7 separate regions of the Homo sapiens genome follow, and all the other regions are linked to region 1. Evidence: promoter capture Hi-C in 16 types of primary human blood cells and fetal thymus (Javierre and others, 2016). All regions are on one chromosome and are shown on one strand. The core of a region is centred on a gene start or on the middle of the fragment in contact, and the rest is flanking DNA. Distances in the headings are between cores, read along the strand shown. Region 1 holds the start of RELL1 (RELT like 1). Region 2 holds the start of RFC1 (replication factor C subunit 1). Region 3 overlaps LOC439933 (a long non-coding RNA gene). Region 4 overlaps DTHD1 (death domain containing 1). Region 5 overlaps DTHD1 (death domain containing 1). Region 6 overlaps FAM114A1 (family with sequence similarity 114 member A1). Region 7 holds the start of TLR1 (toll like receptor 1).

Region 1 (2,960 bases), core at 120-2,619:
ATAGTCCTCTGAAAACTAGAGGTTATCAGTCACCTCAAGGATGAGACCCATCCTGTGAAAACCCACAGCCTCCATGCACCCCCTCTTCTTGCTGGTGTTGAGTATTTGCTCAAGTCCTGCCCTAATTTCCTTCAAGCAAATGCTTGATGGCCCAGTAACAACAGTCTCTACAGGGCAGTAAAAAGGAACTATTCAGAGAGAGCCTCTGAGTCCTATTAATGCTTGTGAAGATGATTCAACTTCAGAAAACACTTCTGACCTCTTAGCGTGTGCTGTCTGTCCTCCATCCAGGCGCTGAGGGCACAGCAGCGAGCAAACACAATGACAATGAGATAATTACAATTTATCATGGTGGCCCAGACATCGTGGGTTTACTCCCTGGCCTCTAATAGTCACCTCGCAGAGCTGATGTGAGGATGTGAGGAGATAATAAGCGTCTGGGCATTGAAAGACCTACTTTGCGGGAGTATGCGCAAGGTGCAATACAAGCACACGATTAAAAAAAAAAGGCAAGTTGTTCCTGAAAATGCATAGAGGTATTTTCCCCAATAGGAGCAGCTTAAATGCAAACAAACAGAGGAAGAAATTTAAGTTATCTTTTCTGCTAATTTCCAAACAACAGAACGTGACATCCAGCACAGCATCACTCCCTAGATCTGCAACCGAGGGGAATGCTAGTGGATAGACATGCCAACAGCGAAAAAAGCCTGTGCTCACTCCAGTGCTGGCCGCTTCTGACTGTCCAGTGCTTCTCGGGGCGCGCTCCCTCTTTCTCTTCCCACGCCCGCCTAGTCCCAGCGACCGAGGGAGGTTGCACCCGGGCGACCCTCCCCCCGCCCCGGGCTCCCGCGTAATCCCGGCCCGGCTTGGAAAGGAAGCGGGCCTGGCAAGTAGAGGCACGGCCGGGCCACGGTGGGCAGGGCGCAAGGGCGGGGCTATAGCCTAACTGCGCCGCCAAGGCTGCTGCTGGGTTTGGAAAGGAAGCGGGAGAGGAGGGGTCGGGCTGAGCTGTGGGTGGGGAAAAGGGCGGGGCCATGGATGGGCCACGTGCCTTCTTAGGTGGAGTCCGGGGCTCGGTAGGGAGAGGCGGGGCCAAGCTGAGGTGGGTGGAGAAAGAGGGCGTGTCCATGGCCTAGCTACGCCGCTGAGGCTGCTGCGGGGTTTGGAAAGGAAGCGGGAATGGCAGGGAGAGGCGGGATCAGGCTGAGGTGGGCGGGGAGTCGGGGGCGGAGCCATGAGTGGACCTCGTGCCGGCTTAGGTGGAGCCCGGGGCGCGCGGGGAGAGGCGGGACCGAGCCGAGGTGGGTGTGGCGTGGGGCGGGGCAATGGCGGGGCGGGGTTCGCCGCTCCCTGGGGCCCAGCCCAGCCACTCGATCAGCCCGCCGGCTCCGGAGCGGCTCTGCCTTCCCGAGCGCGGGACGCGGCGCCCTGGGGGAGGAGGGCGAAGCGACGCGGCGATGGCTCCGCGGGCACTCCCGGGGTCCGCCGTCCTAGCCGCTGCTGTCTTCGTGGGAGGCGCCGTGAGTTCGCCGCTGGTGGCTCCGGGTGAGTGTCCGGTCGTAGCCGGGGCGCCGGGTGCTGAGCCCGGTCCCGGGAGCGCGGAAGGAAGCGAGGGGTCGGGACGGCAGCCCCGCGGCGTCCTGCTTTCTGGCACAGCCGCGGGATCCCGGCACTGAACAACTGGCTGTCCCGCGGCGGTCCGGGCAGGGCGCGGTGCGTGGCAACGGCTCCCGTCCCTCCCCTCCCGCGGGCCCCGCTCCCGCCTTCCCTCCCTGGGGCCTCCTCCGAGGATCTGTGTTCCCCAGCGCTGGGCAGTGCGGGGCGTAGGGACCAGGCCTTCTTCGGGGGCGCTTCCTCCACGGCCGCTCGCCTCGGAACCCCGCGGACCCGTTTCCCGCCGCCCTTGTCCTCAAAGGCGCCGCGAGCGGAAGATCGTGACACAGAGCACCGGGTGCGCTGTCGGCGCCTCCTTCTCCCTTTTAAATACCTTAAAATATCCTAAAACCTGGAGGACTTTGAATCTCTTTCCACGTTTCCATTTATTTGGGTGGTTGATGGATTCTTGTAACAGGTCAAGGAGTCCACATTTCTTCCCATATATCCTGTATAAATCAGGCTCGGAAAAAGGGAAGGCGCGTTGGTAAACTTACATTTTTTTCTTCTTTTTGTTGATTCCTGTCGTCACGAAAGGAACCTTGTGTGGTCAGGGCAGGAAGCCACCAACAGAGATGCTAAAGTGTCACCAACGATGAAGCAGTTTTTAATTGAAATCAATCTTAAGAGGAGGTGTAAGTTTTATGGAAGTCCTATGTCACATCCTTGCTTTTATAATTACAGACACTAGGGATTCCTTACCACCGCTTCCCCTCTTAATTGCCACCTAACAGCTGCAGTTAAAAAAAAAACATACTTACTTGGCCATTTGGGGTTACTACAGCTGGGAATCTGACGTCAGCAAGCTCTTCCAAGCTTGATTTCAGCGGTGGTTCCTCCTCAGGCCCAAATAATAAGCAACTGGAAGCCTTTCAACAGTGACTGTCTCCTCCATAAACATCCATAAACTCTTCCTCCTGAGAACATTTCAGTCGCTTACAACTTTTACACTGACTTAGCAGTTTGGCCTTCACTTTTTCATAGAAACCAGAGCAGGTTGGAAGGGAAGGAGATGGATAATATTGTCTCCTGAGTCTTTTTAGCAGGCCCGTATTTCCGTTAGCCATCCACCTGGGGAAATGGCAGCTAGTGACATGTTTTACTGGATGGGACAATTTTTTTTTTCTTTTCCTTATTTTGATACAGGGGCTCATTTTGTCACCCAGACTGGAGTGCAGTGGCACAACCTCGGCTCACTGCAACCTCCAGCTCTCTGGTTCAAGTGATTCTCCTGCCTCAGCCTTCTGAGCAGCTGGGATTACAGGCATGTGCCACCATGCCCGGCTAATTTTTGTATTTTTAGTAGA
Region 2 (2,960 bases), core at 150-2,649, 1.7 Mb before region 1:
TTCCTAAAGAAAACAATCTCACAAAGAAGTTACAGTCTCCTGACTTAAGTCTCATTTAAACTCAAGGAAGGCTTCAAATGCCAAAAAAAAAAAAAAGCAAAAGTTAAGAGGAATGTAATATAAAAGACACGTACAACTTTTTATGTCTTATTTACTCATTTATTGATTTATAACACAATGAACATTATAAATTGGTGTAGGTCCTCTAAAATTATGGGCAAAAATTTGTGTGATATGTCTGCTAAGACAAAACCGAGGCACAGTAACTTGCCCTTGGTCACATAAATAGCAGGTGGTGGGGCTGGAGACCTAGCATCCTGGCTTCAGAGGGAACAGTGCAGTGAGGCCCTGTTAATAAGTAACAGTCTGTCTGTAAATTCGGGATAAGAGTAGTCAGTGTCATCATGGGGATAAAATGAGCTAGGCTAGTCCAGAGCTGCACGTACAACAATAGGCGTTTAATAAATACAAGCTGTCAATGCTCAGCCTCTGTTGTATTCCAGGCTGTTCTATCTTTCGCCATAGAAATGTTGGTGTCATAAAGCGCAAGACCCAACAGGGGGTGGATGGGTGAGAATTTCAAAAGTGTAGCTAGAGCCAAAGCTGGAGATACTGCTTTCTCCATTGAACTCTTTATGGTCTAATCTTTCTCTTGAAATCGTACGCAAATGTTTCATTGTATTCCGTGATTCAATTGCTAATCTATTCATATACAACTGGTTTACCCCAAAGCTTTCGGTATCTTTTCTTTTTTTTGAGGCGGAGTTTCGCTCTGTCGCCCAGGCTAAAGGGCAGTAGCTCGATCTCGGCTCACTGCACCACTGCCTCCTGGGTTCAAGCAATTCTCCTGTCTCAGTCTCCCGAGTAGCTGGGACTACAGGCACACGTCACCACCCCCTGGCTAATTTTTGTATTTTTAGTAGAGACGGGGTTTCACCACATTGGTCAGGTGGTCTCGAACTCCTGACCTCAGGTGACCCACCCGCCTCGGCCTCCCAAAGTGCTGGGATTAGAGGGGTGAGCCACCGCGTCCGGCCTCTTGATGAAACCTTATTACAGAATAGATATTTATACATAATATGTAAAACGCACAGCTAAAACATTTATCTTACTAAAGTTGGTAGTAAAAACTTTTCAAAGTTACTATAGGGAAGTGCATTGTCCAGACGTGTAACCGGGAGGTACTTGGGTACCCCGCCTGCCAAGGAAACCAATATCGGATCCCCCTACTTTAGCGCCCCCGCCAAAAACCGAGCTCACACCAAAGCACCGTGGTTCCTCTCGATGTCAGCGGCCCGCCTGCCCTCGGGGCAGCACCTGGGCAGGCGTCGCACCTCCCGCCTCTGGGCGGGACGGAAGCAAAGCTCGCGCCTCCTGACGTCATCACCGCGCGCCACTGTCTTCGCCTTCTTGCACTTCGCGGGAGAAGTTGTTGGCGCGAATGGATCCTGAGCCTCGATAACAGATTCCTCAACCGGCCCACCCGCCAGCCAGCCAGCGCCTTCATCCTGGGGCTGCGATGGTGAGCCGCTGGGGGAGGCCGTGCGGCTCGGGGTCTGGGGGGGCTTTGCAGGCCTGGTGTGGACCGGGCACTCCTGGTATGCAGGGTGGGGGAGGATGGCGGTGGGTGGTTCCGGAGGCTAGCAAAGGCAGAGAAGGGGCCGCACACCGGGCACTGGACGCAAAACTTTCATTGCATCGCGGGCTCTGGCTCTGGGCGGCAGCCAGCGCGCAGGGATTTTGTTGCTACGTGTACTTGCACTTTCCCCCCGCCCCCCACTCTTGGGGGAAGGGAGAAAGGAAGAGAGGAAGGATGGTGGTTTTGGGACGCATTGGTAAAGTTATTTTCTTGTTCGGCGTTGCCCGAACCTCAGTTTGAGTACTGCCTAAAGCGTGGATTTCAAGCTTTGGGTCACGAGGGAGAAGAATGTAACAAACTTTTCTTTCTTAGGGAATATGTTGTGTAGGGCCTTAAACTTTTATCATTAACAGCTCAGCTCGTCTCATCTCCGCTCGTCATTAACGATCACCTGAGCGGTGTTGAGACCGAGGGCATGGAGAGGATATTTTATTTTGTTTAGATGAGTTCATAGGAGTCAAAAGGATAACATGGCTTACTAGGAAAAAGAAGTACAGCGAATAGAAACAGATGCAAGACATTTGACAGCTGTCATCCTCTTACCACCTGATGTTTAAAATCTGAAAAAAACCCAAGCCTCACTGCATAATTCTGGATAAAATGTTCAAACAAATTGAAAGTGAAATGATTATGCAGCCAGCAAAGCAGACATTCCTGATGGTATGGCAATGGATATGGCTCTGTGTTTGAAATATTTTTAAAGGACCATTTAAAATGTTCATTAAGCTAGAAGATACTTAACAATCCGATATAATTTTTTTCAATCATTGGTCAACGTGTCACAGTGACAACATTCTGGGGGGGGGCGGTGAAAATTTTATGCCACACTGGGAAACGTTGCAGGCCTTTGTGTTTCTTCTCAAAAAAGGGCAACAGTAATGATAGTAGCTACCTTGTACCAAGCATCTTCTTTAGGTCAATATGTGAACTGTTGGTTTTCCATGGTTTTTTTTTTTTTTTTTTTTTTTCATTTCAACCCACATCGATGCAGTTTTACAGATGGTGCAAGCACCTTTTTGGAATTTAAACAGTGTATCATATAACTAGTAGGTGGTTGAACTAGAATTAGAATCTTGGTGTTTCTGACCACCATGTTATACTACTTCCCTATAATGATCATCATTACATTTTGGAGGCCAAAGCACTGTGGTATTTTGGAAGCTTGAGACTTGGAGTCTTGAAGATGAAGAACGTGGTAATATTTTAGTTTAATGGTTTATATATTAATTTATAGTTATATTACTATGTTAGTATAGTCTAGTTTAATAGTTACGTGGTCTTGGGCAAGTAAATAGCTTAAGTTTAATCTCTTTAAGCCTCT
Region 3 (2,960 bases), core at 129-2,628, 1.4 Mb after region 1:
TGCTGCTACCTGACACAGGTTAAACAAAAAGATCCATTCCTTTAAATAAAAAGCATGAGATGTAAATTCGCATGCTTGCTTGAATTGAAACTATTAAATTTTTCACAACTCCCTTCAGTATTCTTTCTTTTTTTGTTCTTTTTTTTAGAGATGAGGGTCTTGCTTTGTTGCCCTGGCTGGAGTGCAGTGACACAATCATACTTCACTGCTGCCTCAAATTCCTAGGCTCAAGTGATCTACCCGCCTCAGCCTCTTAAAATCCTGAGATTACATTCTTGAGCCACACCACCTGGCCTGTTTATTTCTAAAACTTCATCAGTGATTTTTAATCATGGTTTGGGCATAGTAAACATTGATATATACGTACATGTATAATTTATTTAAAATTTTATAGCCTACTTATTTCCATCCCCTCTAAAAAATCCAACTATTTAAGCTTACCTAAAATAAACTCACAAACAATATAAGTACTACTAATAAAGTTTTACAAATAAAAAATTATACAGGGAAAAGAGAAAAAGAATTACTAGGAAAGTGGAAACATCATTCTTAAGCATTGACCTTCACACTGAGTTTCCTGGCCATCAAGGCAATGGCAGAATAAAGTCTTAGTCCCATTTTTAGATGAAAGGAGGTATAAAACATTTCTGCCAGGGAGAGAAAAGGGGAGGTAGCTGGGAAAGGCTTGGTTTGAACTTGGTTGAAGAATAAAAAGAGGGAAGGAAGAAATGAAGGAAAGGGAAGGAAGGAAGGAAGGGAGGGAGGGAAGGAGGGAGGGAGGGAGGAATGAAGGAAGGAAATTTGAATGGGAGCATTTTAGATGGACCCTGCAGTTTTAAGGAGTGATCAACCTAGCCATCCGGGAGGTATCAGGTACTGAATTACAGATGATTTTAGCATCTAGATCTTTATGTAAAGGATTATTAATATAATGAACAAGGTCTCCAAAAGAGGCTTTGAAAAAGCATCAATATTTCTTTCTGGTTCTTATATTGAATCCAGTGAAAGCATTTGAAAATTAAACTGTCTTCCTGGGAACTAATTTTCTTTTAGGCAATAGAGTACTAACTTAGCATATTCTTGATCATCTCAATGGAAGCTGAAATAGAAGATAAAGCAATGGAAGAAAGGAAGATGAGCTTATCCTTTATAGTCTTATTCAAATATTAGATCAACTATGCTTTGGGCCAGAATAAGTGTCAGTCCATTCAATGTTGCATTATATACAGTGAGGTGAAGCGTATCTTCACCTACTCGGATTTCCTGGAACTTGGAAAACTTGCTATATTTTCTCAGATACTCTTTCAGAGATAACTTCACTCTAGACAAAAGACTAGTGGAAGTGAGTGAGAACATAGGCATGGAACAGGTAAATTTCCATGGATGTTCATCCGTGTGGTCTCAGGACAACTGGATTTTCCCATTCTAAGTACACTTTCCAGACATAGCCTGGCTTCTGTTAGGGAAGGAAGGGTATGTGAACTATGAGTGTAAACTCTATATAAAGAAACTCTTATCTTGAAACTCTATGTGGTGAAAAAAAAGGTCTAGAATTAGCACCCAGGCAGTTTTGTTGGTCTAATCAAATTATAGAGGTCAATTTTTCTAAATTAATTATTTGTTTATTAACTTTCCTTTTTTTCCCTCTTTGGTTCTAGACCTTATTTTCTTAGTGTGCTAACATTTTTCTTTCGCAGTTGTGTTCATCCATGTCATCCAAGAAGCAAATAGCTGTACCAGATTAAACATGTAAGAAATTTATTAAGGGAACTGCCAGAGAGAGAAAAGGGGTGGGAGCTGGGAAAGGCTTGGTCTGACCTTGGTTAAAAAAGAAAAACAGGAAAGGAAGGAATAAAGGAAAGAAGGAAGGAAGCAAGGAAGGAAGTTAATTTTGGTGGAATCATTTTAAATGGGTCCTGCAGCCCTGCGGTTTTAAGAAAAGATCAACATAGCCATCTGGGAGGTCTCAAGCCAAAAATCTCTACTCACAAAGGACTTCTGGGTTTCCCAGCAACACACCTGCCTTGGTGTCACTGCCACACCCAGACATTGGCTGAGAGCCAAGGAGAAACTGTGGTCCTAAAGCAACTGAGGCAATGAGTTCCAGAGCTTAGCAGCTAGAGGCATTGGTTAGTTACACTCTCAGCAGTCAGGGGTCCGAGATGCACATTCTCATGGGAGCCACAGCAATATGCATATTATTGCTTTAATGCACTTTGAGCAAGTTAATCATATTACTTCCCATTTTTGTCTATTTGTTTAATATAGAATAATTAAAATCATTTTTTGAATATTCAGTAGGTGACTTGTTAAAAGCTTTCCATGCATTATGTTATTTCATCTTCTCAAATACCCTGTTATGAGTCCCATTTTACAGATTACTTAGTTCATTTTCTTACACGAACAGGCTATGATACACTATTACATTATCTTGGTAAAACTAAGAACTACGTTTCCCAGAATCCCCTCACCTATATAGTCCCTTACCAATATAGAGTTAGTGAACAGAAAAGCTTGCAAAAGATTTGAAAATTGGAAGTGACACAGCAGACAATAGTCTGTGAAAGCTGTTTTGCAGTCTGAGGAGGTAATGGATAGATTAGTGGTGCTCAGTAGATTCCAGTGTGCCTTCTTTCTCTGCTCTGCTACTAGGTCTTCCTCCAGCCTACTGGCCCTAAAGATCAATGCTGGCCTCAAGACATACTTCCAGACATTTGGCTGTGGACCCCTAGAGTTGTAGAGTTGGTCTCTGCAGGGAGCACTTCCTATGGGCTCCCCTTTGTGGCTCAAATTTAGCAACTGAATATACTTGGCTTCTCAGATTAGCTCCTTGCTAATTTCTTTTCTGATCCTTTAACTCATCCTCCCACACCTTCTAGTTCCTTCCACCATTGTATAAAGTCTAATTCCTATAATGAGTCCTTTTTCCTAGAACACATAGGGACTTTCCTCCTCTGCCT
Region 4 (2,960 bases), core at 122-2,621, 1.4 Mb after region 1:
CTATGCATTTTATTTACTTATTTGCTTATTCTCTGTCTTTCTTCATTAGACTTTAATATACCTAAGATCAACAAATTTTTGTTGAGCAAATTAAAGAATGGTTATTATATAGGTGTAGAGATAGATGTAGAGATACATCCTATAGAATATCTAGAAAAATCACTTCCCTGGGCCAAAGGGCATTCAGGGCAACTTTAAAAGGCAGACCTCACAGGGCATTACTAGATGTTATGGATGATGCCATGGTGTCATTATATAAAATCATATTAAAACACTTCCTGGCACTTTCTGGATTTTGTGTGCAGTTGGGGCTTGAATAACATGCAATAATCCAAGTGCTAAACTGACAACTCTAACCTAGAGAATGAAAGCTTGCTGTAGCTTGTTTCCAGAAGAATGCCAAAAACCGTCATAAAAACCAAAGGACGCACCTATCCATCTTCCTTCCTATTAGAGATAGAAATACAGTCCATGTCCTGTGACCTTCACTGAAAAGTCATTCATATTCTCTATAAGTGAATAGAGAGATTTTGGCATTTCTCAAAGGCAGTAATCTAAATTTATTAATTAAAGTTTTAAATACTTTTAATTGCACTTAATACTATAATGCTTTTTTTCTAAACTTTGGTCTTCATTTCTTTCAATGAATACTGAGTTTATTCTAACTGTCAGGCTCTGCCCTAGGTGCTGGGGACTGAATGCTGCCCTCCAATAGGATGGAGACTGAATGCTGCCCACCAGCAGGACAGTGCCTCCATGGATGTGACCATGGTAGGAGAAACTGGCATTGGTCAAACAATTAAATGAAAAAATAGAAAATTGCATGTGACAAAGGCCACAAATGAAAAAAGGAGGATCTGCAAAAGTATAATAGAACTATTAAAAAATAAAATAAGGTCTGACATAATCAGGAAGGATAGAGAAAGCTTCTCAGAACATGATAGTTGAGGTGAGATCTGAAGATACAGCAGGAGAGAACTGGGGGTGAGGGTGGGGGTGGGGAGGGCGAGGAGAACCCTCCAGGCAGAGAATCTCTAGCTTTATCTCTTTGAGATTCACAGAGACTACGCTAGGCCCTGATAAAAGGATGGATCTATGCTTTTACCAGGATGAGGTATCAATTGTTTACTGAGGATCTTTTCCCTCTTAGGCAGAGAAAAACCCAGTGAGGCTCCAGATCTGAGCCTGTCTCCCTAGGAAAAGCAAACCCAGGATCTGGGTATCCTGCCTGCTCATTTTCCCTGAATGAAGATGAACTCTTCCCCAACCCTTATAGGGAGGAATTGCACAGGTGACGGCTGCCTTGGACGCTCTTGGTTTAGCACGTGCTCCCCGGTCTCCACAACAGGCAGTGGGATATTCAGTACCACTGCTTGTGAGTAGAACAGTAATGCACTCCTATTTAGGGTGGTTGGTAAACACAGCTGCTGTCCACAGTATTACAGGAAAATCATTTGCATCATTCGTTTGGGTGGGACCCTTCTGCTTAGTACTATGTCTCAGTAGAGAGATTTCTCCAGGGTGGACGCTGTGGTTTCTGCTCCGGAAGCCAAGTAGGAAGGGGCCTCTTCCACCCTTCCTTCCTCTCCCTCCTCTCTCTTCCCTGCCCCCTTCTCTGCCATCTTTGTCACTTGCTCACTAAGTCCCGTCAGCTGGCTCAGATGCTGAGATCCTGTATGTGACAGTAGAATAGACACTTAAAATTGGGACACTTTAGGTCTCACTTATTCCTGAGATATCAAAAAAGCTGGGAGGGCAGCATCAGCTTCAAGCCTTGTCCCTTTTTTGAAGCAAAAAAAGAACCAATGAAGCTTGGAGCTATTTCCTGAATCAGAGAGAAAATAGGCATAATAAAATTAAATCGGATCCATATTAATTTATAAGTAAACGGAGCACATCCCCTCAAGTAAAGTATGTAGAAAGCCTCCTGGAACAGAAATCTTCATAAAACCTGTCCGGAATTTTCCCTCTCACCTCATTTTTACACACACACCTGTCTGATTCTATTCCACCACAGGGCAAGCAGTTAGAAAGAGGAAGGTGTTGGCTTAATGAAAAAGAAATTGTTGTGATGGCAACTCTTTCAAAGACGTTTCCTCTCTATTCCCACACAGCTGTTTTCTCTTCTTGTTCTTTTTCTTCCTTTTCTCTTTCTCTTCATCTCTTTCCTTTGAACTCTTTAGTCTCATCTATTCCTTCACTTCTGTAATCTCTCCTGCCACCTCTCATATTCATCCTGCTTGCTTTCCTCATCACTGTCATATAATCATTCATTCACTACACACTTATCAAAAGCACTTGCATGTTCACTGCAGCACTATTTACAATAGCAAAGTCATGGAATCAACTTACGTGCCCATCAATGGTGGACTGGATAAAGAAAATGTGGTACATATACACCATGGAATACCATGCAGCCACAAAAAAGAACAAAATCATGTCCTTTGCAACAAAATGGATGCAACTAGAAGTCATTATCCTAAGCAAATTAATGCAGAAACAGAAAACCTAATACTGCATGTTCTTATAAGTGGGAGCTAAACCTTAGGTGCACATGGACATGAGGATGGCAACAATAGAAACTGGAGACTACAAGGGCTGAAAAACTCGTTGTTGAAATCATTCTCTAGATATAAATCTATCAAACATTGTACAGAAAAAATGAGGATGATAGTTTATTTGTCAGTCAATGATATTTCTTCAGTGTATTTGATTAAAGTGTACAATAACTGGTAATACATTACTGGTGTCAGTGTTTAGTTGGGTTGATATAAAAAATAAAGCATTTTGTAAAGAAAAAAAAAGTTTTGGATATACCAGTTCCTATGTTAGGCTCAGAGGATATATTAACAAGAAAGACATGGTCATTGCCCTCATGAAGTTTTCATTCCGGTGAAGGGTAAAGGACATAGCATAACTATATGAACAAAAAGTAAATAAATTAATTAAATAATTTCAAA
Region 5 (2,960 bases), core at 157-2,656, 1.4 Mb after region 1:
TCTACTCAATTACCCAGTGTTATTTCCCAAGAAACCTCCAAAAGTTTTTAACCCTCCTTGGGGCTTTTCAGTGCTCCAAGATCCAGCCATTATCAGGCTTCCCTTTACTCAATAGACTTAACGTTTTTGAGGGCCAGGAAAGTATATCTCATTCCTGTACATGTTAGACATCATAGTAGGTAAGGTGTTGTACACAAAAAGTGGTAAAAAATATTTTATTGGTTGGGTGCAATAGCTCATGCTTATAATCCCAGCACCTTAGGAGGCTGAGGCAGGAGGATGGCTTTAGCTTAGGAGTTTGAGATCAGCCTGGGCAACACAGCAAGACCTCATCTCTACAAAAAAAATACAAAAAAATAGCCAGGTGTAGTGGCTTACTCCTGTGGTCTCAGCTACTTGGGAGGCTGAGGGAGGAGGATCACCTGAGCCTGGGAGGCAGAGGTTGCATTTAGCTGAAATCATGCCACTGCACTCCAGCCTTCATGACAGAATGAGAGCACCCCCCCTCAAAAAACTTAACAAAAATTTGTATTCACATGATGATATCGTCTCTCGATTTAAATGATACGCCCCTTCAAATCCTGCCATATTTTCAAGGAACTGGTCAAATTCTACCTCTTTTATAAATTAGTTTCTTATTTGGGAATTTATGCACTATACTATCACACAATTTATCTAACAACTTAATATTATATTGTTGTTAATGCCATTCATATATGTTGTTTTCCCTCCCCAATTAGACATTCACTGATTTATTGTGCCCTCTTCTGCATCTTCTTTTATATCAGTACTTACATTTGCCACATGTTAAGCACATCATACCTTTAATAAATACTTAGTAGCCAGAATGGCCCTCCATGGACAATCACAAGGATTGTTATCATCATACATTTAAGGTCAGCAGTTTTAGCTGTTCACACAATCTGCACAGCAAGGTTTTTATGTATCCATGAAGATTACTTCCACCATTTCCTGCAGAACACATTTCAGATCTCCGCTGCTTTTTGAAAAACACATGCCTTACACCCTGTCTACCACTCTCTCACGAGGCGTTTAGTTTTCTATTTTCTGAGAAAATTAAGCAGTGTGCTGAGCATGGTGGCTCATGCCTATAATCCCAGCACTTTGGGAGGCCGAGGCAGGTGGATCACCTGAGGTCACGAGTTTGACATCAGCCTGGCCAAGATGGTGAAACCCTGTCTCTACTAAAAATGCAAAGATTAGCCAGGTGTGGTGGTGCACACCTGTAGTCCCAGCTACTCAGGAGTCTGAAGGCAAGAGAATCGCTTGATCCCGGGAGGCCAAGGTTGCAGTGAGCTGAGATCGTGCCACTGCACTCCAGCCTGGGTGACAGAGTGAGACTCTGAAAGAAAAAAAAAAAAAAAAAACCAAAAAAAATAAAAGTAGGCAGTGGTTCTCAAACCTGAGTGTTCCTGACAATGAACCTTGAGAAAGGGGCAAAAAAGGGAAGCTCACACTTGGATTCAACTGGTCTCAGATAAGGCCACATTTGGAATAAGCAACTGGGTGATTCTGATGCTGAGGCTGAGTGCACATAGAAAAAGCCAATCAAGTATCAAACCCTACATGAATTATCAACTAGCACCCCTATAAATATATCCCAATGAGTACATGGAAGAATGAAAGAAACATCTTTATCCAAAAAGTGATGAAGATTTCTAACGTCACATCAGGACAAAAGTAAACTTCAGATTGCTTCACCTTACCTAAAGCTATAGGGATGTAGTAATAAAAATATTGATTTCTATTAAGTAATTTCATAAATTACCTCACAGGAATCACGCAGATGACCTAGCTCTGGGGCCCATCATCTCATGCAGAAATTTCAGTTTCTGGCAAAGTTTTCTCAAGTATTTCTGGCAGTTTCATGGGCTTTACTCTCTTGGCATCCACACTGTTCCACTAGGTGCCCCCCAGTGCTCAGCTGGACCATGCAGCCCTCCACACTCCTTCTGTGGGCACGGCAGCTTCTCCCCATGCATCTATCACCACGTAGCATGCCATGATGGTTTCTACCTGTCCTTTAGTTTTCCTCTCATGGTGCCATATAGGTCCAGATGACATCTGTGGTTTCCACAGGTTCGCACAGCTGCTGCCCTACTGCTGCTCTGCTGGATCCCACCAGCAGTGATCCCACTGCACCTGCTTTATATGGAGCTCTTGGTCTCTCCTGCTTCCCTTCCAAGCGAAGCAATTGTCTGTTAGTGGCCACCCTAAGCTCTCCCGGTGTGTGAGCTGTGTGGTAAAACATGATAGGATAAAGGAAGTGGCTTCCTACCCCTCATGTCACATGACATTAAAGTAATATTGACTGTGCCCTGATATGCCACAGAACTAAATAAAATAGGCCTTCTTTTTTTTAATTAAAACTTTTTTCCTTCAGACATAATCATGCATCTAAGGAGTGGAACTTCGGTGCTCAACTCTAAACACTTGCTGGCCCCAATGACTAGAGCTCTCAGTGTATGATATGATATATATTTGTATATTTCACATATATGTAACATGTACTATATATAATTATGCTATATAATAATGTGTAATATTTATATTACATATGATATACTTAACATGCAATATTTAATACATTCATATATATTTAATGAATTTTTATGCTAAATTTATAAAATATGTGCATGCATTTTTAGGTAAAACCATCCTAACTCCCCTGCATACAGAATTCTGTCAAGTCATATCTCATATACACAGTTATTTCTGAAACTGAGGTTCATTTCTTACCCCAGAAACACCTCAGCTTTTATGCAAATAACTTTCTAGACTGGTTCCTTCTCTGCACACTTATGAGGCATGTGTGGAACTCTCAGAATTGAGCCTGAGCTCAAATCTGAGTTATATAAACTTTGCTTTCTCCTTGGTTACCTCATCTGCCTTTCATTAAAAAAAAAGAAAATTAAAAAAATTGTGTGGAAGATGGGGAG
Region 6 (2,960 bases), core at 223-2,722, 1.2 Mb before region 1:
AGGAATATACTATCCAGGGGTCTTTAGTAAGCACTTAAAAATCCGTAATGAGGTGACCACCTCTTTTTAGAGGGTTCATCTACCGTCTTCTCTGATGGGCACTCCAGGGTATGCTAATTAGCATAAGGGATATGAGAAATAATTTTTCACTGGTGACATGAAAGATGCCTCAGGTATGTGGATCGACAAGAAATAACGTACAGGTGCCTTCTCTGCTTCTATACCCAAGACATGAGATTGCACTGAATCCAGCAGCTGACTTACCCTTTGGAGTAGCGTTCTTCTAGGTTCTCTAGCTGAATGCAGGACTCCAAAGCCTGAAGGTGACTAGAAGCTTAGTTGAGTCCTGCCTCTAGAACACAGGCCTAAAAGGACAGTGAGCTAGGACTTCCTTGAGCTTATAAGAACAGACTGGTTAACTAAGCCTGTTTGCTAATACATGTGTGGGTTTATGGCAGAATTCCATCAGTGAACTTGGATTCATGGTAATTTAACTCTTGGTAGGGAAGTTGCAGAGGAGGAAACCTAGAGCCCTTACCTATCTCTGATGGCCAAATTACCTTAGGTCAGTTTATCCCAAATGTAGAAAAAGTACTGCAGTAAAACTCCTCTCTGTGGCTGTTCTGCATTCAACCAACACAAACCATCCCTTCAGAAATACCCCAGAAACTCAGCTGTAAGATGTTAAACAGGCATTGTTAAAACATATTTATGGACTATTGTCAAAAAATATTTATGGATTATTATTTAAAATATTTATAGATTATTGTTTAAAATATTTATGGATAATTTATAAATTTTATTAATACTAGATCTTTACATCTGTTAAATTTAAAAATGGTCATCGGTCAGGCATAGTGGCTCACATCCCAGCACTTTGGGAGGCCAAGGCAGACAGATCACTTGAGGCCAGGAGTTCCAGACCAGCCTGCCCAGCAGAGTGAAATCCTGTCTCTACTAAAAATACAAAAAAATTAGCTGGGCATGGTGGCATGTGCCTGTAATCCCAGCTACTCTGGAGGCTGAGGCATGAGAATTGCTTGAACCTGGAAGGCAGAGGCTACAGTGAGCCAGGATCATGCCACTGCACTCCAGCCTGGGTGACAGTGTGAGACCCTGTCGCAAAAAAAAAAAAAAAAAAAAAGAAAGAAAAAAAAGAAAGCCATGCAAGATCAGCTCTAATTCAATTTCTAATTGTGTGTATCTCTAATCCATATTTATCTCTACTTGTTACAGGTCTAATTTTCCCCAAATCAAAACGAAAAAAAATTATTTTTTGTTTGGTTGTTCTGGTAGAACTTTATCGACTGTGGATGCTATCATGATGGGGGAAATGTAATCATTTTTCAGACTATACCCTTTTGTATGAAACCACTAGAAACTGTGTGTTTGAAATACAGAACTGTTTCTGAGCAGGGGCTGCTGGAGTCCACCAGGATTACAGTCATGACAAGCACTGTGTTTCCTGGGACGGTTTCCATCTCCGTCTGGGTGTTCCATAAGCCAGACTTAGAAACCTTTCCTGATTTATGGTTAGGAACACTGATCACTGTAGCCATGTCTCGTGGACTGGAGGCTAGGGAGACTCAACCCACAGAAACAAGGAGGCTGCTTCAGGAAACTCTAAGGAGAGGAAGGGTGGCATATAAAGAAGCCTTTGTGGGCTGGGAATAAGTTAGTTTTTCGTGAGTAAATTCATTCATCACCTAAAATGCTCCCAGAACTATGCAAGGTATTTAAGCAGCAACATCACAGCTCCAAAAATAAGTATAAAACAGAAGACATGGTCACTATCCTTCAGAAATCAATCATCTGTTTGAGGAGCTAACACAAAACAGTTAAAAAGTGATGCAAAACAGCACAGCAAATCAAGGACAGATGTGCCTGAACTAGACTGACCCTGTGCAAGGGAGAATCTTGAAAGTGTCTTTGATGTGGTGATTCAGGCCTGGTGGGATGAGAGCATGTGCAAATGTCCAAGCATCAGCGATGGACTGTAGTGATTCAGGACAGGTGTCTGAGAGGCCAGGACATGAGGCTGCATGGAGGAATGATGAGAGGTGGGAGCGATGGTATTCTGAGGTGGAAAGAGTTGTGTCCTGCAGGCGTCAAGGGATGTGGCCTCTGGTCCCAGTATCCCTTTGTGGGCACACAACTTGATCCTCACTGTGCTTACACCTGCTCCTCTGTAAAGCTAGGATGGACAAACTGATCTGGATGCTTTTTTTTCCAAACTCCACCTGCAGGACTGGGGCAAGTCTGTGATGATAGAGAAAAATGAGGACAAGATTGCAAGTTTTTCATAAATCTAAATTTATTAAATGTAAAGGACTGCCTTCATCTTTCAAGTTTAGCCTTTGTGCTTTTTCTTGGTATTAAAATGTCTTTCATTTTATGAAATAGTGACAGTGGATGGATTTTTTTAAAAAAAATGGCCTGACTTGGCAGCATAAAAATTTGGTTAGCATGATATCCTGTGTGAGGTCATCTCCCCCAGTTAAAAAAAAAAAACAAAAACAGTGCCAGTCAGCGAAGGACCAGGAATAAAAACTCTGGATGAGAGGCTCTTAATCAGGTTGTAGCAGTTTGTATGAGTTTGTATAAAGCTTGACAAGTCTACGTACCCAGGCTCCAGCCTATTCTCTGTGAGGCTGCCAGGCATTTTTGGACCTATTTGCTCTCCTGTTCAAAAACCATTAGGTGTAAATATCTTCACACTTCCCATCATAATCCAGCTCCAATCTCTCTCCACCTCTTGCAACTCTCAGTATCCTCCACTCCTGCCTCACCAGTCTTTTCTCCATTCCCCATAACTCTTCACATCTCCCTGCCTTTGCTTACGCTGGTTCCTCTGCCCCGGTGCTGCCCTTCCTCCAGCTGCCTGGCAAACTCCTATTCCTCTAGACACCCAGTGTCTAATGTTACCTTTCATTCTGAATTTTTCCTTAATCTGCCCCACT
Region 7 (2,960 bases), core at 145-2,644, 1.1 Mb before region 1:
GGCTGGCGGATCACTCGCGGTTAGGAGCTGGAAACCAGCCCAGCCAACACAGCGAAACCCCGTCTCCACCAAAAAAATACAAAAACCAGTCAGGCGTGGCGGCGTGCGCCTGCAATGGCAGGCACTCCGCAGGCTGAGGCAGAGAATCAGGCAGGGAGGTTGCAGTGAGCCGAGATGGCAGCAGTACAGTCCAGCTTCGGCTCGGCATCAGAGGGAGACCGTGGAGGTAGAGGTAGAGGTAGGGGTAGGGGTAGGGGTAGGGGTAGGGGTAGGGGTAGAGGTAGGTAGAGGTAGAGGTGTAGAGGTAGAGGGGAAGTGTGTGTTTGTTGATTGATGGGTGTACATGATTACAAGTGTGTGTTTGTTCTGTGGTGACCCACTGGACAGCAGGGGGAAAAAGAGGCAGGTAGGTGCCTCCGAATTAGACACTTTATTTTATTTATTTATTTATTTATTTATTTATTTATTTATTTATTTATTTTTTGAGATAGAGTCTTGCTCTGTCACCCAGGCTAGAGTGCAGTGGTGTGATCTTGGCTCACTGCAACCTCCGCCTCTTGGGTTCAGGCGATTCTCCTGCCTCAGCCTCCTAAGTAGCTGAGATCACAGGCATGTGCCACCACGTCCGGCTAATTTTTTTTATTTTTAGTAGAGACGGGGTTTCGCCTTCTCTACTAGGCTGGTCTCAAACTCCTGACCTCAGGTGATCTGCCTGCCTCAGCCTCCCAAAGTGTTGGGATTGTAGGCATGAGCTACCATGCCCGGCCTGAATTATACACTTTAAACGGGTGTATTTTTTATCGTTTGTGAAATTTTTTATGGAAGGTGAAATTTTTTATGGTTTGTGAATTATATATCAATAAGGTTTTGTTAAAAAAAAACACAACTAACTACAGATTACATCTAATTGACAGCATATTTTTACTGCCCTGAATCCAAAAAGAAATGCCCAGGTATGGGCTAGGGGTGGGCAGAGACACACACACTTGTAATCATGTACACAACTGGGAGTAGTGGGGATGAGTCTGTGGGGAAAAACAGGAATTCAGAGTGCTGAGAAGCTTCCCTTACTGCCCTGCCCACTTCCCTCCCCTGGGCATTGCTCCCTCAGCCTGGATTCACAAAGTCAATGCCTTTGGGAGCCAGGAACTAAATTCTTAGTCAAAGACACCTCCCTCCTGTCCAGTTATGGGTCTCAGGGAGGAAATGGCAGGTGGGTGGTTTCATTCTTTCAGTTTCAGAAAATATCTGTAGACATAACATATTTCCTCTATTAAACAAATTCTGAGGTAAGGGGAAACAGAGAGAGACAGTCAGAACATTATAAGTCGAAAAGAATCTCAGCATTCTTAGTTTAGGGAAGTTGGCCTTGCTCGCTGTGTGGTAGAAAAGCTGATTACGGGAGAGAACCGTGGAGGGAAGGAAGGGAGGCAGTTTTGTCATCCCCACATCCGGTTTTGACTGGACACCATGCAGGCTGAGATCAACTTCAGAGGCAGTCAGCTGGAATCCCATAGCTTTATTTGCCCATTTATTGTGTTGTTATTTTGTTGTTGTCATTACTGGAAAAGGCAAGAGTAGAGCTATCAGAATGTCTTCCTTGAACATGCTGTCAACAAACCCCAGGATTTTTATAAACCCTATGTGAAAAACACGCTAAGAATCTCTTTTCTTCTTAGCATATTTTTCACTTAGGGTTTACAAAAATATGTTTTGAAGAAAGCTTGAAAAGATCAGTGGAAAAAAATTCAGCACCAAATTTTCTCTGAAAATCAACTTGTCAAAAAAGACGTGATTAACATCCATCCTGTAACCAGCACATGAATGATCTTCCCTCTTTACGAGTGTGCTTCAGCAAAACTTTAATCTCGACCCCTCCCTCTTTCCACTTTTAATAGTGGATGGATGAAAAGGCAAGAGGAAAAACAAAGCAGCCGAAACACACCCAGACGCACACTTCTGCCAAGCATAGCCACCACGGTAAGCATTTTGAATTCAGCCAATTATGATCTGTGGATTATTAACATTACCTCATTTACTTCATCAGTGTAGACAATAGTAAACTGACTGTAGTGAAATTTGGAACCATAGAAACGTGATTCTATTTTAATACAGGCCTATCAGGTAACCCACAGACTATGCTACATATGAATAAGAGAAAATAAGTTTATTCTTAACTATGTAATGTAATTCCAGTGGAATTCGGTAGGTGGCATAAAACAGCCTTTTTGTTTTGTTTTGTTTTCAACACCAAATGTGGTTAACAGTGAAATAAATTCAAGGAAGTGCTTGAATTTCTTACAGACTGCCAAATGGAACAGACAAGCAGGTTGTCTTGGTAAGCAACACATTCTTTTCTTTTGTAAAAGAAAATAATTGTATAGCTAGTTATTAAGTACAGAAGTCTCAAAAATCTGTGTAAGTCCTGGGTGTTTTTCTAAGTGGGTTATATTTCTGATATGTATATAGTTACTGTGTAGTTTGTACTGGCATTTGTGTATCAGTTCTGAGTCCTAAATCAGAGAAAGTCCCCACACTCCTCTGGGAATAACACCTCGTGTGTGATTTGCTTATAGGAAATATTTTTGAGTTGGGAAATGAATATTTGGGTCACACACGTCTTCTGGTTTTCTTCCAGAGCAGCTGCTAGTTGTTGATTTTGACAGCATTTCTCTTCACCTAATCCCGCCATTTGTATTCTCTTCTCAGTGTTAAAGAAAATGAGATATAAGTCAGTTACTCCCGGAGGCAATGCTGCTGTTCAGCTCTTCTGTTTTTGTGGCCAGGTTTGTTTCAGTTTTTCTCTCTGGGGCCTTCCCACTAGCTAGTCCTTCTGTTTCTCAGGCCACTAACACTGTTCTGGGGAGCTAGACGTGAGGTAGAATTGCAGGTTTTGAAAATGTTTCCCAGGCTACATCCAATTTGGTCAAAAGACTTGAAAGTGAATTTGTTTTATAACA

The links. The method cuts DNA at HindIII sites, captures the fragments that hold promoters and counts their contacts. A CHiCAGO score of 5 or more calls a contact.
Region 2: a contact is called between the fragment with the promoter of RFC1 here and the fragment with the promoter of RELL1 in region 1, in 2 of 17 cell types (naive CD4 T cells and total CD8 T cells). The highest score is 5.5, in naive CD4 T cells.
Region 3: a contact is called between a fragment that was not itself captured here and the fragment with the promoter of RELL1 in region 1, in 2 of 17 cell types (M1 macrophages and M0 macrophages). The highest score is 6.7, in M1 macrophages.
Region 4: a fragment that was not itself captured here is called in contact with the fragment with the promoter of RELL1 in region 1 in 1 of 17 cell types (M0 macrophages); the score reaches 8.7 in M0 macrophages.
Region 5: a contact is called between a fragment that was not itself captured here and the fragment with the promoter of RELL1 in region 1, in 2 of 17 cell types (M2 macrophages and M0 macrophages). The highest score is 6.5, in M2 macrophages.
Region 6: a fragment that was not itself captured here is called in contact with the fragment with the promoter of RELL1 in region 1 in 1 of 17 cell types (neutrophils); the score reaches 6.1 in neutrophils.
Region 7: a contact is called between a fragment that was not itself captured here and the fragment with the promoter of RELL1 in region 1, in 1 of 17 cell types (total CD8 T cells). The highest score is 7.8, in total CD8 T cells.

What each region holds. Positions count from the first base shown.
Region 1 is chr4:37,684,785-37,687,744 of GRCh38, reverse strand. It overlaps RELL1 (RELT like 1), which reads left to right and starts at 1,369. Exons shown (of 7, transcript NM_001085400.2): 1 at 1,369-1,545. The coding sequence starts at 1,458. RefSeq lists silencers at 671-980, 1,161-1,830. The HindIII fragment of the contact is 3,799 bases long and covers 1-2,471 here.
Region 2 is chr4:39,364,801-39,367,760 of GRCh38, reverse strand. It overlaps RFC1 (replication factor C subunit 1), which reads left to right and starts at 1,399. Exons shown (of 25, transcript NM_002913.5): 1 at 1,399-1,522. The coding sequence starts at 1,520. RefSeq lists an enhancer at 1,358-1,477. The HindIII fragment of the contact is 1,173 bases long and covers 735-1,907 here.
Region 3 is chr4:36,264,382-36,267,341 of GRCh38, reverse strand. The region is part of intron 3 of LOC439933 (a long non-coding RNA gene); the gene reads right to left. Among named protein-coding and RNA genes, the nearest start is that of DTHD1, 16 kb to the left of the region's middle. The HindIII fragment of the contact is 1,880 bases long and covers 439-2,318 here.
Region 4 is chr4:36,309,504-36,312,463 of GRCh38, reverse strand. All of the region lies in intron 7 of DTHD1 (death domain containing 1), which reads right to left. Among named protein-coding and RNA genes, the nearest start is that of DTHD1, 29 kb to the right of the region's middle. The HindIII fragment of the contact is 885 bases long and covers 929-1,813 here.
Region 5 is chr4:36,332,787-36,335,746 of GRCh38, reverse strand. All of the region lies in intron 8 of DTHD1 (death domain containing 1), which reads right to left. Among named protein-coding and RNA genes, the nearest start is that of DTHD1, 53 kb to the right of the region's middle. RefSeq lists an enhancer at 2,917-2,960. The HindIII fragment of the contact is 7,023 bases long and covers 1-2,960 here.
Region 6 is chr4:38,869,271-38,872,230 of GRCh38, reverse strand. All of the region lies in intron 2 of FAM114A1 (family with sequence similarity 114 member A1), which reads right to left. Among named protein-coding and RNA genes, the nearest start is that of MIR574, 2.7 kb to the right of the region's middle. The HindIII fragment of the contact is 2,272 bases long and covers 337-2,608 here.
Region 7 is chr4:38,804,132-38,807,091 of GRCh38, reverse strand. TLR1 (toll like receptor 1) reads left to right here and starts at 2,301. Exons shown (of 4, transcript NM_003263.4): 1 at 2,301-2,338; 2 at 2,710-2,786. RefSeq lists enhancers at 1,301-1,470, 2,429-2,598, 2,533-2,702, 2,610-2,779, 2,646-2,815. The HindIII fragment of the contact is 662 bases long and covers 1,064-1,725 here.